2 separate regions of the Homo sapiens genome follow, and region 1 is linked to region 2. The links are contacts of gene promoters, found by promoter capture Hi-C in human tissues and cell types (Jung and others, 2019). All regions are on one chromosome and are shown on one strand. The core of a region is centred on a gene start or on the middle of the fragment in contact, and the rest is flanking DNA. Distances in the headings are between cores, read along the strand shown. Region 1 overlaps DMGDH (dimethylglycine dehydrogenase). Region 2 holds the start of BHMT2 (betaine--homocysteine S-methyltransferase 2).

Region 1 (2,700 bases), core at 39-2,538, 48 kb after region 2:
AGAACTCCAAAAATAAAATGTCCTGCCCTAGATGGTTGTAAACTAAAGACTGATTTCCCATCCTGTGGAAATACGTGAATACATGTATATGACTCAATCAGGCCAAGGAAACCTTTTTCATGACCCTGTGTCAGTTCCCAAATTCTGAGCTATAATATTAAAATAAAACATGTGTATTTATAGTATGAGATTTTAGGAAAACGAACCTCCTAAAGGGTTTTAAAGGGAATATCTTTCTGTACATTCTCCCCATGGCTTTTATTTTTATGATGTACCATCTGCCTCCAGACCAGAGAAAGCAGGTGCTTGGAATTTGGGCAGACCCTAGCAGCAGATTGCTCCCTCTGATAGCAGAAGCCTTACTTTAGCTGTTTCAAATAAGGTTAAAAATGGCCCAACTCTTGAAAGTGCTAAATTTCTGTTATTGGTCACCAGTAGGTAGATAGATAACTGATTCTTTTGCTTCAGTGTTCGGATATTATTGTTTGGGGATAAGGCATAGATAAATAATCCCTTCGTATTGAAATGGGATTTTCAAATATCTTTTATGATTATTAGCAGGGGTGGATTGTGTCTTTGTTAGTTAAGTTATACAGCCAAATAACCAAAGCTCATCTCAGAACGTAGTTAGTTGTTTAGAAGATACTAATTTTGATTTCTGGCATGTTTTTATAATTTCTGAATTGTTGTTTCTCATTCAAGTGTCACAAAGTTAATTCCTAATGATTTTATAGGGTAAAGGTCCTTGTAGCCCAAGGACCTGGCCCCCAACTGAGCCAGTCTTTTTCAATTATGTCAATTCAAGTGGCTAGTTGGTATTAACCTACTCATAATGATGCTTGCTAATCTCCAAGACAGGTGAATAGATTAGATCAACTTTGGTGGTTTTGTAGCAGTCTATAATGTGAAACGGATGCCTGGAAACCTTATTAACATTACAAACTAAGCTTTGTAACTTGACCATTCAAGTCCTGTGCCTAAAAACCAAAATGTTACCCAAACTAGCTTCATACAACATTTTAAATACTGTAAGCCTATAATTGCTTCGGAAAATCGATGCTATAGGAGAACAGAAGCAACAGCTAATACAGAGAGATATTTATATTTGATACCAAAACAAACACAGCAAAAACCCTGGCATTTTACAATTGTTTGAAATCAGTTATTTCTTTCCCTTCAGAGCAAACATTTAGAATTCTCTGGTTGGCCCTTAGGCATTTACACTATGATCGTTTAAGCCATAATGTGAAGAAAAGGTAGAAGCTGACTGTATCAGAGCTAGATGGGTCCCTGGGGATCAGCTGGTACTCCCCTCCCCCATCTGAAGCAGAGGAAACTGAAGCACAGAGAGGGAAAGTGACCTGGGGGAGGCCACTGCTTTAGCTTAGGTCGAACGCCACCCTCTGACCTCATCGTGGAGCTTTCCCACCCACCACTTTCCCCCACAAAGTCCTTTTCCACAGTGGGCTTATCAGACTTGAAAGACTGCCCAAGAATTTCTCTCTCTGGTAACATATATTGTTTGTATGGACTACCTTTTATTAATAGACACTTCCCCCACATGTTTTTGCTGTAACTAATTTTGTGTTTTATGATAGGATCAGAATAGCTGCTTTGCCCATTTTAAGGAGGAAAATGGCTGGGTGAGCAGATGGGCCATCAGGCCTTATTAGGGTGAATCGTGTTCTTGTCAAAACCTGTCAGCAAGTAGGGAAAAGAACAATGGAGTACTGAAGAACTCTTTCATCACAAAGGGAGACGGCGCAGTGGCCCTTGCTTCCTTCCGTCTTGGAGTTGTTCCAGCCTCCTTCCCCTGCTGTTGGCTTATGTGAAGTTGATACACATGTATCATTCATTCATCCGTTCATCTAGTAGACATTTATTAAGTACCGCTGATTAGACACCTTGCTAACCCATAGATCTAAATGTTAAAGATATACTCCTGATGGCTCTCAGATCTCATGAACCTGGAAACAAATAATATTTCAGGAACTAAAGCTGTAGGGATACGTTCTTAGCCGTAATTGTGAAGATAACCCTTCCGCAAGTGGAGGGCTCTCCAGCCGCATACAACACTGCCATCTTGTGGGAAGTGCTCCGTAGAGCCACTTCAGGAAGCCTTGACCAAAGCTGCGGTAAAAATAATTGAATCTGTACTTTTAAAATCTTCTTAACTAAAAACGCTTCACCTGAAACGACTCATATCATTGTTCTCAATGGTATTTTTGGTATGTTCCAAAGGAAGTAACTTTTGGGAGGAAAATCAGTAGCCTTTGTTTAGTTGGAGATGGAAGAAATGCATTAATCAAGAGCAAAAGGAAAATCAGCTGCCTTTGGATGGAGTCATAGGCATTCCTGGAATTTTCATGGTGGAAATATTGAATTTTTGTCCATTTCTGGAGAACCTCCACGAAGATTCACAGAGACTCAAGTATTAAACGTAATGTGTTGAAGCACATCAGAAGAATTTGTTTTCTATAATATGTTTCTCCCTCTTTTTCTCACTCTCTCCTTCTCCCTCTCTTTCCCTTTTTCTCTCTCCTTCCCCTCTCTCCCCGTGTAGAGCTTCTAACTAGTAGAAACAGAATAAAATGTAATCTCTATTAAACATAAGTTATAAGACAATGTTGATTCTAGAAAATGCAGGGTCTCTTTTGGAAGAAATATTTAAAGCATAACTGTTCGATAACCAAAAACAAA
Region 2 (2,700 bases), core at 140-2,639:
ACACATTCACATGGATTAGTGTGTGATAATCTTGGTGTTGTAACAGTAGAGGCCCCAAAGACACTGAACAAAAACAGGGCATTTTAAAAACGTTTAAAAATATGAACTGTAAAGATGAACATAGCATTAGAGAAAGTTGAGAGAAAAAAGCACAATGTTCTTTGATTATTTTTATTAACTGTATTCTTTCAATGCTCACATTTTGCTTTTATAACCTGAAAAAATATCCTAAAACATGCTTTTTAAACCAATATTCCACATCTTGTGTAACTATTACCATTATTGTGTCCTTCCTTACAGTGTGTATATAAATATTTGTATATGGTTGGGATCAGTTTGTGATATATTTCCTTTTGCAACTTAACATTGCCAAGGCACTTAGCTGGTTCTCATACTAAGTTATTTAACTGTCTAATAACTTAAGTAGATGAACCTTAATTTATTTAGAATCCCGTATTGCAGAGTATCTTGGTCGTTTCTAACTTTTTAGTATAAATAGCTCGGTGGTGCACATTTCCACGCATAAACTGCCCCTCCTCCCTTCCTCCCATTCTGAATGACAGGGCTGGAGCGGGTGGGGGTCTCTGAAGGGTCCTGGGGATGTCTTTCGTCCAAGCTCATGCCCTTCCTAATTTTGCTTAGTCACTCCTTCATCCCACCCCCACACATACTCGACGTAGAAATGGCTGGGCATAAAGCCAACATCTGGTGACCAGACCAGGAAAGGGGCCAGGAGCTGGGGACCACCGGGTGAGAGGAGGTTGAGGGGTGCTAGCGAATCCCACCTACCCTCCACCCTGCACCGCAGCTCTGGGGGCGTCCTTGCCCAGGACTAGTTTCAGACCAGCCGGCGACTCGCAAGGCCAGGCTGCTTGGCCAGGCTGCTGACTTTTCCAAAACGCGAGGGGACAGTCCGAAGAGTTCCCGGACGGATTAGCCCAAAGAGCTGCGGGCGAGGGTCGGTTGAGGGAAGAAAATGTGTGCGCGACATGCGTCCGAAAGCTAGACTTCTGATCCTCGCTCCCCGCGGGGCTGGACCCGTGACCCTGAGCTAGTCGCCTGACTCGCCGAGCCTCAGTTTCCTCACCTGTGAAATGGGGATAATTGTGAAGATGAGGAGATAACTTGAGCACAGCACTCTGTGCAGCGCCAGGCACCGAGTAAGGGCTCCATAAACGCTAACCAACCCGTGACAGGGGAAAATTGAGGCTCAGGGCCATCCCGTCCAAGTGTTTTGCCGAGGCCCCAGGGCTTGGCTAGGGATGGACGCCGGGTGTGAACGGAGTCGCTCGCAGCCCAGCGGCCAGGAGCTCCGCGAGGATCGAGGGGACGAAACTCACCTTCTTGGCCCCCGGGCGTCCAGCAGGTGCCATGGTGCCGCGGCTCTGTGGGCGCCGGGTTCCCGGGCGCGCGGCCGTCTAGGAGCCCGCCCCCAGCCCGGGGGGAGGATCCGACCCCCGCCCCGCCGGCCCCGCGGCCTCAGGCTGCCCGCTGGCCTCGGAGCAGGCGCCTGCGCCCTCGGCCTCGGCCTAGTCATGCTCCGTCCCGGCGCGCAGCTGCTGCGGGGCCTCCTGCTGCGGAGCTGCCCGCTGCAGGGCTCCCCCGGGCGCCCGCGCTCTGTCTGCGGCCGGGAAGGGTGAGTGGGGCCCCGTCCTGCTCAGAGGCGACGGGGCGGCTGCGGGGGTGGGAGCCAGAGGCTGAGGCAGGCTCAGGGGTTAGGAGCGCTCTGGCCTCCAAGAAATAGGCCTTGATATATCTTCTCGAATTATCTTTTAATTATAAAGTGAAACAGTATCCAAAGGTTCCCCGTGTAAAGTCTCTCCTGCCCCAATCCCCTTGGCCAGTGAACAATTGTTAATAGTGTCTTCTGAATCTAACCAGAGACAGTCTACGCATAGGCAAACACAGGTCAGTATAGGTTTTCCTTTGGCTTTTTGACATCTTGCTTTTTACAATTATCAATATATCTTGGAGATTGTTCCATATCAGCACACACTGACTTGCCTTGTTCCTTTTAATGGCTGCATAGTTTTCCATCCTGTCAATATTCTACACTATCGTTAGTCTATTCATTAACATTTAAATGGTTTTTGGTTGTTTATTACTGCAAATAACGTGCATGTGAAAATTCTTAGGCATCTATCTTTGAGTACATATGGGAGTCGGTAGCAACAGTTTTTAAAGGTGAACTTGTTAGGGAAAAGGTTACGTGCATCTGAAAGATTGAAAGACAGCAACACATTCTCCAAGTGGGTGGCAAGAGTTTGCATGCGGCACACCAGTGTGTGTCTGTTTCCCACATCTTCCCTGGTTCCCAGAATAGCCCATTTTGTTATCTTTGCTAAATCTGATAGGTAAAAATGGCATGTCCTTGTTTTGATTGGTCTGTATTTAAATATGAGCAATGCTGAACATCTTTCGACTTCTTATATTTGTAGATTATTCCTGGTTGCCAGGAAAGGCTTGTTTATCAGCATCACTCAACATTATTATGAGTTGATTCGAATTTTATTTTATGTCCTATGACCTGAAATTCTGGAATCAGAAGACCTGCTTTTGAGTTCCATCTATCCATTCAACAAATATTTACTGGGTGTTGTGATGTGCTAGGTTTGTCTCCAGTACTGGGAATGCAGTAGCCACCAACTCACAGTTCCTGCGCCATCTGTTACACAGAATGTGACCTTACACTTCTGAGGT

The links. The method cuts DNA at HindIII sites, captures the fragments that hold promoters and counts their contacts. A contact is called where the count stands out against the background at its distance.
Region 1: a contact is called between a fragment that was not itself captured here and the fragment with the promoter of BHMT2 in region 2, in 2 of the 25 tissues and cell types used here (liver and mesendoderm cells).

Annotation. Positions count from the first base shown.
Region 1 is chr5:79,020,580-79,023,279 of GRCh38, reverse strand. The region is part of intron 14 of DMGDH (dimethylglycine dehydrogenase); the gene reads left to right. Among named protein-coding and RNA genes, the nearest start is that of ARSB, 37 kb to the right of the region's middle. RefSeq lists an enhancer at 1,076-1,577. The HindIII fragment of the contact is 5,347 bases long and covers 1-2,700 here.
Region 2 is chr5:79,068,456-79,071,155 of GRCh38, reverse strand. BHMT2 (betaine--homocysteine S-methyltransferase 2) reads right to left here and starts at 1,389. Exons shown (of 8, transcript NM_017614.5): 1 at 1,341-1,389. The coding sequence starts at 1,373. It overlaps DMGDH (dimethylglycine dehydrogenase), which reads left to right and starts at 1,482. Exons shown (of 16, transcript NM_013391.3): 1 at 1,482-1,636. The coding sequence starts at 1,536. The HindIII fragment of the contact is 19,729 bases long and covers 1-2,700 here.